Regions from separate parts of the Homo sapiens genome. Here regions 1, 3 and 4 are each linked to region 2. Evidence: promoter capture Hi-C in human tissues and cell types (Jung and others, 2019). All regions are on one chromosome and are shown on one strand. The core of a region is centred on a gene start or on the middle of the fragment in contact, and the rest is flanking DNA. Distances in the headings are between cores, read along the strand shown.

Region 1 (3,048 bases), core at 262-2,761, 1.8 Mb before region 2:
GAGAGCTGCTCAGGGCTGTTCTGGTTTCTGGGAATACAGCTGAGACCCAGACTGACCACGAGTCTCACGGGGTGTCCATCCTGTGAAACCGACCAAAATGAAATGAAAGGAAGAGAATGAAATAAAAGTCAGCAAGAGATGGGTCAGCTAGTGAGAAAGGCTGTAGCAGAGGCGTCATGGAGAGGGAGCTACTCCATATTTCGTGGTCAGGAAGGCTTCTTGGAGATGATGGGTTTGAAGCTGACACCTAAATGACAAATAGGATATCTGGGGCTAGGGCCTCTGCCAGGCAGCAGAAGCAGCATAAGCAAAGATGTTAGAGCAGATTGGCTGTTCAAGGAAGCAGGACCCTGTGTGGGGAGTGATAAGGAGGAGGGGGCCAGGCTGGAGAGATGATGGCTGATGCAGATTGAGTGTGTAATGTCCCAGGCACCCCTGGAAGCATTTTACCCGGGTTAATTTCTTCAATCCTTTCAGCAAACCACTGCCGTCAGCCCTGATTTACAGATTGGGAAATAGAGGCACAGTGAAATGTGAGATGAAGTAACTTTCTTTTTTTGTAGGGCAGGGGATGGAGTCTTGCTCTGTCACCAGGCTAGAGTGCAGTGGTGTGATCTCGGCTCACTGCAACCTCCACCTCCTGGGTTCAAACGATTCTCCTGCCTCAGCCTCCCACATAGCTGGGACTACAGGCACCTGCCACCATGCCTGGCTAATTTTTTTTTTTTTTGTATTTTTATTAGGGACGGGGTTTCACTATGTTGGCCAGGATGGTCTCGATTTCCTGACCTCATGATCTGCCCGCCTTGGCCTCCCAAAGTGCTGGGATTACAGGCATGAGCCACTGCGCCCAGTGGAGGTGAAGTAACTTTCTAATCATTAGCTGATTACCTCATGACAACTCAGGAGGTGAGGTGCTTGGATTATCTGCATTTCGCACTGAGGCCCAGGGAGATGAAGCAACTTGCCCAGGTTAACCCAGCTGGGAACTGGCAGGCAGAGTGGCTCCAGTCTGTGCCCCAGGCTGCCACCTGTCTTTTCAGGAGGCCCTGTTGTGCCAGAAAGCATTGCACAAGGGCTCTGGGTGGGCTGTCTCCTTCCCCTGGCCCCGGAAGCCCTCTCCTTGCCTGTCTTGGGTGGCTGTGTTGCCAGGCAGTCAGCATGGGCTTTGCAAACTGACAGACGTGTTTCTAATCTCAGCTCTGCCACTGACCAGGTCAGAGACCTTGAACAAGTCACTTGACCCTGCTGTGCCTGTGCCTACTGTATCCCCTCCAAAGCTCAGGTTGAAATTTAATTGCCATTGTGACAGTATTAAGACATGGGACCTTTAAGAGGTAATCAGGGCCGGGTGTGGTGGCTCACACCTGTAATCCTAGCACTTTGGGAGGCCAAGCTGGGTGAATCGCCTGAGGTCAGGAGTCTGAGGCCAGTCTGGCTGACATGGCAAAACCCCATCCCTACTAAAAATACAACAGAATTAGCTGCGCGTGGCAGCAGGTGCCTGTAATCCCAGCTGCTTAGGAGGCTGAGGCAGGAGAATTGCTTGAACCTGGAAGGTGGAGGTTGCAGTGAGCTGAGATCACGCCATTGCACTCCAGCCATTATCCTGTGGGTCCGGCCTGTCTTGCTCTCCCTTCCTCTCCCTGTGCCATGTTATGATGCAGCCAGACATCCCTCACTTGATGTGGCTCCTCAGTCTTGAACTTCCCAGCCTCCAGAACCGTGAGCTAAATAAGTCCCTTTTCTTTATAAATGATTCAGTCTCAGGTTTTCTGTGATAGCAGCAGAAGACCGACTAAGACAGCACTTCAGTCTTCCCATCTGTGAAATGGAGGTGTTCAGGGCCACCTCTCCCTGAGCAATTGTGAGGATGAGATGAGGGATGTGCCAAAGGTGCTGGGCACAGCAGTGGCCGTCACGTCCCAGGACATGGGGATGGTGACTGTCTCCCACAGCAGGTTGCTCTACCTCCAGCTGCCAATCATGACAATAACCAAGCCACCAGCTCCTGGTGCCTTCTGAGGACTCAGCTCCAGAGAGCACTTAACCCTCGACACCCCTGCTGAGTGGCAGGCATATCACCCCCGCTTAACAGGGAGCTGAGACTCAGAAAATTTGCGTAAATAACCCAGGGCCCAGCAGCCAGGAAATGTCAGTGCCAGGATCAGAACGGGGGGGTCAGAAACCCTCCAGTCACACTTGCCCTGTGGTTCCAGAATCGTGCTTTCCTTTCTGTGCGCACCCCACACTCCCCTGCACAGGGAACTGGAAGCCACTAGGCCCCTCACAGAACCTGAGCTCAGATAGGAGCACCCCATGAAGCCTGGGCTCCATCCTCCTGGAGGGGGAAAATAAAGCTTCCTGGCTTGGAAGACAAGGAGGAGGGGATGGGGACTGAGCCCCCAGCAGAGCCCTCTCAGGGCCGAGAGCCAGCCAGCAACACAGTCAGGGAGAAAGTTGCCCAGGAGCTTTGTCTCCAGCACTCTCTGGGTACCCATCATGGGTAGGGGTGGGCCTGGGGGGCTCCAGGTAACCAGCCAAGGGCTGTATGGACAGACCACCCCTGGAACCCGGGCTGCCAAGAGACACGGCACCCAGTGGGGGAGGTGCCAAGCCTGGCATTGGCCAGGGTGCTGGACAAGCCATAGCGTGGCTTGGTGGCCCAGTGAGCAGGCAGAGGAGGCCACAGGAGAGACAAAGGCAGCTAAGGAGTGGGAGCAGGAACCAGGGCCTTGTCACCCTGCCATCACCTTGTCACCAAACCCACGAGTACCTGTCACCCTGCCAGGGCAGACACCTGAGAGGGGCTTTTTTTTTTTTTTTTTTTTTTTTTTTTGAGACAGAGTCTTGCTCTGTTGCCCAGGCTGGAGTGCAGTAGCACGGTTTCAGCTCGTTGCAAACTCCACCTCCCAGGGTCAAGTGATTCTCCTGCCTCAGCCTTCCAAGTAGCAGTGATTACAGACACCTGCCACCATGCCTGGCTGATTTTTGTATTTTTGGTACAGATGGGATTTCACCATGTTTGCCAGGCTGGTCTCGACCTCC
Region 2 (2,857 bases), core at 197-2,696:
TGACAATATCAAGTAACTTGCTTGTGCAGCAGCATTCATTTCCCTCCCTCCTTTTTTTTTTTTTTTTTTTTTTTTTTTGATACAGGGTATCATTCTGCCACCCAGGCTGGAGTGCAGTGGTGTGATCACAGCTCACTGCAGCCTCGACCTCCTGGGCTCAAGTAATCCTCCTGCCTTGGCCACCCAAAGTGCTGGGATTACAGGCATGAGCCACCATGCCCCACCAGGATTCACTTTTTCTGCATACTCTGGTGGTGTTTATTGTTATCTTTACATTTTATTTAGCAAAGAATGTTAAAAGCGCCATGTTATAAGCACACTCCTACCCTCCAAGCAGAATGTAAAGGGTATGTATTTATATATTTTAAGTGGTCCCACAGCAATTTGTACAGTTATAGCAGTTCACAACTATACTCAGTTATGTTTGCTTCTCTCCTTCTCAATAGTCTGTGAGGTTCCTTCAGGTTTGGAACTGTCTTTTATTAATCTTTACATCTCCAGCACCTAGCGCAGGGCTTAGCAACAATTTTTGTTGAAAGTATATACACTGTAATAAAGGGCAGTGGAAAGAAAATATGTGAGTTATCAACACCAGCTAGAGAAGCCTTGTCTGATTCCTGTGAAATATATTCATTTCCCTTAGGAAAAAAAACAATTCTAACCCTATTGCTGTGTAACTTAGCTTCTTGACTTCGAACGGTATTTTAAGGCTTTGAGGAGCTGGAGCAATGTATACTCACTAGAGGCAAAGTGCCTGGTAAGTGGTCTGGTATTGATCAGCAATGATCAGTAAGTACTGGGAAGTGCGTTTTCAGGGCCTGAGACTTGCAAGCTAGTGACAGACCGCTCCAGCTTCCAGTGGACCCGGGCGGGGGCACTGATCAACCCACTTGAGCAGTGGGATCAAGGTCTTCAGCCTTAGCAGTGGGAGCCTCTGCCCGGCCCCCTTCGTTCCCGAGACCCTCAGTCAGCGTCTCCTCCCAAGAGGGTCCCCTCCACCCAGAATGTCCTCCCCTGGGGGAGACCACTCTGTCTGCGGGCCCCCTCCCACAGGAGGGCCCCTCTTCCTCAAGGTGAACCTCTGTCCCCGATACCCGCTCCCAAGACCGAGACCTTGTTACGGCCCCACCCTCCACAGGCCCCTTACCCCCCGGATCCCCTCCCCTGGGGGAGACCCCTCTGTCCGCGGGCACCCTCCTATAGGACGCGCCCCTCTTTCTCAGGGTGAACCTCTGGTTCCCGATACCCGCTCCCAAGACCGAGACCCTGTTACGGCCACATCAACACAGGTCCCCCTCCCCCCGGCGTCCCCTCCCCTCGGAGGAGCCCCGTCTGCGACGCTTCCCAGTCAATCACCCCCAGCATCCCTCCCCGCTCTCACCCAGAACTTCCGCCGCGCCCCCTCCCCTCAGGCGGGACTTCCGCCGGCGCCCCCTCCCCCGCGGCGCCGTCTCCTCCTCCCGCCTGAGGCGAGTCTGGGCTCAGCCTAGAGCTCTCCGGCGGCGGCGCAGCTTCAGGGCAGCGCGGGCTGCAGCGGCGGCGGCGGTTAGGGCTGTGTAGGGCGAGGCCTCCCCCTTCCTCCTCGCCATCCTACTCCTCCCTCCTCGTCATCCTCCCCCTTCGTCCTCCTCGCCTTCCTCCTCCTCGTCAGGCTCGACCCAGCTGTGAGCGGCAAGATGGCGGCGCCCAGGCCGCCGCCTGCCAGGCTGTCGGGCGTCATGGTGCCGGCGCCCATCCAAGACCTGGAGGCCCTGCGCGCGCTCACGGCGCTCTTCAAAGAGCAGCGGAACCGGTAACGGGTCCGGCCGGGGGGCTGCCCCGGGCAGGGGAGGGCGGCCGGGACTCCCGCGGCGGCCCCGGCCTGGACCCAGGCGCCGCCCCCGCCTCGCTGGAGACGCGGAGGGCGAGGCCTGCGCGGGCTGCCTGAGCGCCACCCAGGCCTCCCGACTCCCAGGCACCGCCTCGTGCTCGTGGGTCCCCGCGGGGCCTGGGGCGGGCGCCCCGCTCCCCCACCGCAGCCAGTCCGGGTGCGAAGCCGCGATCCCGGGAGCCCTTGCCGCGGCGTGCCGGTGATGTTGACCCAACACACGGTTAGGCCTCCCCTGTCATGTGCGAGGGCTGCGCCAGGCCCTGGCTGCAAGACCCACGCGGCCCCCAGAGTCATAAAGCGTGTGTTTTAGCGGGAGAGACCCGTGTTACGGACGCGGGAATTGGGCAGTTGCGGGGATGGCAGTCTCTAGGCATGGAGTGGGACTGGCACTCCTTTCTCCTCGGCGTTAGAGCCCAGGCTGCACCATCTGCCCTGGGGGCAGCGCTCTGTGCAGTGTGGAAGAGCACGGGCCTGGAGAGACCAGTCCAGTCCTGATGCCACTGAGGGGCAAGATAGCCAGGCAAAAAGAGAAGGTGCCCAGGAGTCGACAGTTGTGGATTTGGTTCCTGGCCTTGCAAGCTGCGTGTTACTGTGCAGTTTCTCCAGGCCTTAGAATTCTTGTCTAAAAATGGGACTATAATACACAGCTTAGTTGCTGGATTGTACAGAGGAATAAATGAAATAAAGTACGTGAAAATATAAAATGTGCGAAGCCCTCAGTCAATGCTTGTTTGATCTTGTTCTGTCCTCTGGGCCTCAGTTTTCTTGTCTATTTAATGGGAGTAAAGTTGAACAGTACCTCCCTGGTGATAGTGTCATAAGGAGTAAATGAGATATAATGCATATTAAATCCTTAGGACATACCTGTACATAGCACTAAATGTAGCTGATATTATCACTTAACACATTGATTGGTAGTTACCCATGTATCAGCTATTGTGCTAGGTGATGGGGTAGGAAAATGGAAAGTCCTTGCTCTCTCCTGTA
Region 3 (3,016 bases), core at 475-2,974, 1.7 Mb before region 2:
AGCCAGGTATAGTGGCACGCACCTGTAATCCCAGCTAGCTGGGAGGCTGAGACATGAGAATGGCTCGAACCCGGGAGGTGGAGGTTGCAGTGAGCCGAGATTGCGCCATTACACTCAAGCCTGGGCCACAGAGCAAGACTCTGTCTCAAAAGAAAAAAAGAAACAGAAGGGGTACCTGTGAAGGTCACAGACTTCAAGTATCAAGAGGTGTCCCTGTGAGAGAGGAACCGATTCTCCCTAAAGAAGCCAGGAATGGCTTGCAGGAGATGACATTAAGGTGGATCTTGAAGCTTCATAGGGGCAAGTTATTCTGGAAGAGGGGGCAAGGTATGCAAAAGCCTGAATGTGCGGGTGGAGCGGGTGGTGGAGATGGAAACTGGAGTAGCAGATGCAGGCCTTACGGCAGAGTTCCTTGTACCCTGCTAAGGAACCTAGATGGATGCTCTTCCTTTAGGTACTTCTGAGGATCATCAGAGGCTTTTAGGGAAGGGCCTGGAAAGGGAATATGATACTGGCAGGTCAGTTACCTTTCCGGGGAAAAGTGGATAGTAGCCCAGAGGCCCCACTGCTCCATATTTGCAGATGTTAAACACACACTTTAAAAGTGCCTAATTGTAGAGAATTCTTGGAGCAAGGAAATAGTCAGATATTGGTTCACATAGTTTTCTCCAAACTTGCTGATTTGTAAGAATCGCTTGGTGCCACACTAGACCTTCTGTGTCCATCTCTAAGAGGTGACTGGGAATCCTCGTGTGGTTAAGCATGTGTCCCAGAGACTTATGGTCAAGCAAACATAGGAACAAATAAGAATTGAATAAATAGTATATGTTAAATATGTAAGTATATATAATACAATGTATACATAAGTATATTTATTTTTATTTTTGAGATGGAGTCTTGCTCTGTCACCTAGGCTAGAGTGCAGTGGAGTGATCTTAGCTCACTGCAACCTCTGTCTCCTGGGTTCAAGCGATTCTCCTGCCTTACCCTTCCAAGTAGTTGGGACTACAGGCACACACCACCACACCTGGCTAAGTTTTGTATTTGTTTAGTAGAGATGGAGTTTCACCATGTTGGCCAGGCTGGTCTCAAACTACTGACCTAAAGTGATCTGACCTCCTTGGCCTCCCAAAGTTCTGGGATTACAGGTGTGAGTCATTGTGCCTGGCCTATTATTTTAAAATAGAGACGAGACTTCATTATGTTGCCTAGCATGATCTTGAACTCTTGGGCTCAAGCAATCCTCCCATCTGGGCCTCTCAGAGTGCTGGGATTACAGGTGTGACCCACCATACTTGACCTTTCTTTATGTTTTATTTTTACTATTATTACTATTTTTAGTAGAGATGAAGTCTCCTATATTGCCCAGGCTGGTCTCAAACTCCTAGGCTCAAGTGATTATGTGTGTGTGTGTGTGTCTGTGTGTGTGTGTGTATGTGATATTATGTTTATGTAGATGTTTCTCAACTATAACCCAATAAACTCATCGTAAGTTGAAATGTAAGTTGAAAATGCATCTAATACACATATCCGACAGAACATCATAGCTTAGCCTAGCCTACTTTAAACGTGCTCACGACACTTACATTAGCCTACAGTTGGGCAAAATCATCTAACACAAAGCCTATTTTAGAATAAAGTGTTGAAGATCTCATGTAGTTTCTTGAGTACTGTAAGTGAAAATCAGAATGGCTGTGTGGGTGCTCGGAGTGCAGTTCCTCCTGAACGCATATCACTTTGGCATCATTGTAAAGTCAAAAAACTGTAAGTTGAAGCATTGTAAGTCAGAGACTGTCTGTCTTAACTATATGTAGATATATATAGAGAGATAGATAAATAGATAGATACAATGTCTTCCTGGAAATATTAGATGAGACACAGCCTACAGAATGCTCATTCAGAAGTTGCTTTAATATTTTGAGGTAATATCAATTCAGATTATAGAAAGAGATGCTTTCGAGTCCATTTTGTGAGCATATGCAGTTCCCTTTAATGTGAATGAGACTTTCTGAAATGAAAAAACCTGTCAGGGTCTACATAAAATGTTTTCTTAGTAATCTGGTTTGTCAAGGTAGCTATCCTAACATGTGTACAATTTTAATTCTAAAAATTAGGATGCTTTCTGTAACAACAGGAGAGCAAATTATTTTCCTTTTTTCCCCTGATAAATGCCTTTGTGGCATTTTATTTTTAAATGATTTTTTAATTTCCATCGGGCCTCAGATGTCCAGAATTAGGTTGGTCATAATCCTTCATCCATGACATGTCATCATGGATTTGTGCGTGACCCTTTTGGTTAATTTTTTTTTTTTTTTTTTTTTTTTTTTTTTTTTAGAGATGGGGTCTTGCCGTGTTGTGCAGGCTAGTCTCAAGCTGCTAGCCTCAAGTGATCCTTTCTCCTTGGCCTCCCAGAGTGCTGGGATTACAGGCATGAGCCACCACACTCCCCCTGCCCTTCCCTGTTAATTAGTTTTTATATTTTATTTAGTGACCACCAGTGAGTTAACCACCAAGCCAAGAACTTGCTCATTAGCAATAGCTGACGGCACCTTTTTACTCCCTGGTCCCTATTCCTGCCCCTACCTCTACTTGAAGGGAACAACTACTGAATTTTCTGCAGCACCATCTAAAGACAAAACTCAAAGGTAAGTGTGTGTATATATGTGACAAAGTCATTTATCTGTGGTCGCTCCCTCCCTTTCAGAGTTTGGAGCCTCTTCCATCAAGTGGACCTGATTTTGGAGGATTAGGAGAAGAAGCTGAATTTGTTGAAGTTGAGCCTGAAGCTAAACAGGAAATTCTTGAAAACAAAGATGTGAGTTTTCTGTTGAAGGTCTTGATAGAATTGTTAGTGGAAACATTCACTTCCATACACCACTAGGGAGATGTAAAGGAATTAACCTGTTTCCGTGCCTTTATCAAAGAAGAGTTTGTAACCACCTACAACTAGAAAAACTGATGACTCTTAGAAAAACAGTTTCTATTTTTAAAGAAGTCGCTCTTCCTTGGTGATTTT
Region 4 (2,899 bases), core at 180-2,679, 1.0 Mb after region 2:
GGGGTGAGGACTCATTTACTTTCAGAAAACAAATCATACAGGGTTTATCTGTTACAGTCAATAACAAGCAAATAACTCAGAACCATCAGCTTAGAACTTAGTCATTCGTCTAGCACGTCCTTCTGATCTTGGGGGCTGCCGGATTCACGCTGTCAAACAGGACACTGTTTGCACTGATGGAAATCGCTCATCAGCAGCCGAGTTCTTTAATGCACTGACGCAAACAGCATCTGCCTCTACATATTCTGATTTTATGGTCTCCAATTCTTCACTTAAAAAAGGAAAGGAGCTAGAAGGAGGTTCTGAAGTCTGCATGACTTAAAAGGAAAGGACGTGAGTGTCCTTCACAAAGGCGCAGCTGTCTCCACAGCCCCGTGTCCTCAGCCCCAGGCAGAGCAGAGACAGGATGACCATTCAGGCGCCCTCCATGGTCACTAGGGAGGTCATGCGGCCTGGGACAACTATGTTTAGATTTATTTAAGGTTCTATTTACACTGGTCGCATATTACTGAATACACTGTGTGGGGGTGGGGGCGGAGATATGCCAGGTGAAAGGAGTCCCTGCTTGTTCAGTGGCGTAGCCACCATTGCAGAGCCTGCAGTGGCCAAACTGGGGGACCAAATGTAAGGGGAGAGCGCAGCGTTTCCAGCTGTGTTGTCTGCACTCAGCCTCCCCTCCCCGGTGGGGCGCCTCTTTCCCTTTGCATCCCCTCTCCCTGGGCAGCTGCCCTGGCTCTGCCCCCCAACCCCTGGCACCAGCCCTTGTTGCCAGCCCGAGCCTTCTTGCTGAGGGTCCCTGCCTTCCTGTGGGGTTGAAGGCGTGGCTGGCCTGGGCTCTGCTAACCTTAGAGTGGGCTCCTGCCTTGGAGCATGGGGCTAACATGGGTGAGGGTCTCAGCCAGGGGTGTGGACAGGAGGGTGGCTGCTGAGAGTGCACACTTCAGCCAGCTCTACCAACGGTCCTGCCACCAGTGCCCTGCACACGCACAGTCACTGATAAGGTGTCTGCCATCCTTTCCTGCCTGCATTTCTCCTCCATCAGGCCCCTGCAGGGGGTAAAGGGAACCCCAGCAGGGAAAGACCCTGTGCTCAGCCCCCACTCCAACAGTGGGTGTGGGACCCTCCCCCAGAGTCCTCATCCCTGGCACAGCAGCAGCTGCCTGCGCAGGCCATGGGGACAGAGATGGGGACAGCAAGCCCCATGCACGCCTAGGCCATCATGGGCATCATAGGCATCGTGTGTCTGGGCACGCTACATCCGGCACCTTCCACCACATTTGGAAAATACTTCTGCATTCACCTTCCTAACCGTCCTGCTTCATTTCCCGTCATTTGCAAGAGAAACACACAAAGCAATGCACTTACCCTGCCCGGCAGGGCTTCCTATCCCTTGGAGATCCCACCGTGTGTTGTGCAGGGAGGAAGGACACTGTCCCTTCATAGCAGTGGTGGGAGAGGAAGGTCTTTAAACCTGGGAACAGAGTGCAGTGAAGAAAAAACATCCACAAGGGTCATTGCTTGGTTAGGATGCTGTGCTGGGCAGCTTCAGAAATGTCGCTGAGCGCGCATCTGCCTAAACCGTCTGCAGGAGGGAGAGGCCGGGCCTGCTTCAGGCCATGTCACCATTGAAGGCAGTGGCAGGGTCTCTGCCCTCCCTCAGGACAACAGCACGTCTAGTCATAGTGCTGGTGCCTTCTGACACCCAGTGATGCTGGGACAGCCAGGGCTATGGCCACTCTTGACGCTGGCAAAGTGGGGCCTTTGCCATTAGCCACCCCTCATAGCCTCGATGATGTGGCCTGTGGGCTCCAGTGGCTCAGGGTCATCCCCTCCACCTCTTCATGAGGGTCAGTGATGCCCCCACCTGCCTCAGGGCTTGGCCCCCACTGGGGTCAGCCACAGCCCCTGTGACGTCCTGAACAGCTCAGGACAGAGGCCAGGGCCGCTGCCACCCAAAGTCTGGGGCCACCCTCCAGGCAAACGTGTGCGCTGTCCACGGGGCTGCCAGCAGCCTGGCACCCGGGCTGTCTGGGAAACACCACCCAGCAGGACAGCAGGGACTGGGCAGGAGGCAGGAGAGGGGCCCCAGGGTGTCGTGGGCCACACCAGGAGCCAGGCCGTGTCCTGTGAGTCTCAGGGCGACTTCACTCCTCCGTGTCTGATGCTGGGGCTGGTGCTGCCCTGTATGACATCTGGTGTGGCAGTGACGGCCTGCAGGGCCGTCACACACAACCTTACCCCCGACACACAGAGGCCTCACATCCTCATCCGCAGATGGCAAGCCCACAGCCAAGTGTGCACCGCCCAGGGGTGGGGGAAGCTGCCGGCAAGAGCAGTCTGGCTCCTAGGACATCTGTGTGCCTGAAAGTCAGCTCCCGACTGTCCCTAGGACAGCCCCGTCTGTGGGTCTTGCACCTGGCATGGGCCAGGTGCCTGGAATGCACTCAGCGGGCGGGCCCTTCCAGGTGGCTGCAGCTCCGCCTCCCTGCAGAGTGGCTCTGGCCTCTCTCCCTGCTCCTCCCATGGGGGTCCCACAAGGACGTCGTGTCCACGGCCCTGGGAGGAGGCCGACCCACTGGTCAGCAACCTTCCAAGCCGGCTCCTCTCTCAAGTGCAGGGGGCAGGGGGGCAGCTGCCTCATCACCCAGACGCAGCCTCCAGGGTGGCGCCTCACCGACATCTGATGTCCCGGTTTCTGTCTGCCCCTAGATGGGCCCCAGATGTCCTACCGGCACCTAAAACTCCACGTGTCTCAACAGAGTGTGTCATTTCCACACGCTCATTCTCCTTCCATGCCCTCTGTGCTGCTCCAGAACAACCGGGTGCTTTCTGCCTCACAGCCACAGAACCCAAACCCGCTTTCCTGAGAGCATCTCAGGCCCTGTGGCCAGGATGGGGA

The links. Contacts are between HindIII fragments. The study calls those that stand out against the background at their distance.
Region 1: a fragment that was not itself captured here is called in contact with the fragment with the promoter of ATXN10 in region 2 in 1 of the 25 tissues and cell types used here (spleen).
Region 3: a contact is called between a fragment that was not itself captured here and the fragment with the promoter of ATXN10 in region 2, in 1 of the 25 tissues and cell types used here (spleen).
Region 4: a fragment that was not itself captured here is called in contact with the fragment with the promoter of ATXN10 in region 2 in 1 of the 25 tissues and cell types used here (dorsolateral prefrontal cortex).

What each region holds. Positions count from the first base shown.
Region 1 is chr22:43,898,371-43,901,418 of GRCh38, forward strand. No RefSeq gene overlaps it. Among named protein-coding and RNA genes, the nearest start is that of PNPLA5, 7.9 kb to the left of the region's middle. RefSeq lists an enhancer at 1-269. The HindIII fragment of the contact is 6,967 bases long and covers 1-3,048 here.
Region 2 is chr22:45,670,388-45,673,244 of GRCh38, forward strand. It overlaps ATXN10 (ataxin 10), which reads left to right and starts at 1,447. Exons shown (of 12, transcript NM_013236.4): 1 at 1,447-1,792. The coding sequence starts at 1,677. RefSeq lists silencers at 1,120-1,309, 1,370-1,419, 1,750-2,079. The HindIII fragment of the contact is 16,564 bases long and covers 1-2,857 here.
Region 3 is chr22:43,960,582-43,963,597 of GRCh38, forward strand. SAMM50 (SAMM50 sorting and assembly machinery component) reads left to right here. Exons shown (of 15, transcript NM_015380.5): 2 at 2,705-2,815. Among named protein-coding and RNA genes, the nearest start is that of SAMM50, 6.6 kb to the left of the region's middle. The HindIII fragment of the contact is 9,146 bases long and covers 1-3,016 here.
Region 4 is chr22:46,693,845-46,696,743 of GRCh38, forward strand. CERK (ceramide kinase) reads right to left here. Exons shown (of 13, transcript NM_022766.6): 9 at 1,366-1,471. Among named protein-coding and RNA genes, the nearest start is that of CERK, 43 kb to the right of the region's middle. The HindIII fragment of the contact is 4,822 bases long and covers 1-2,899 here.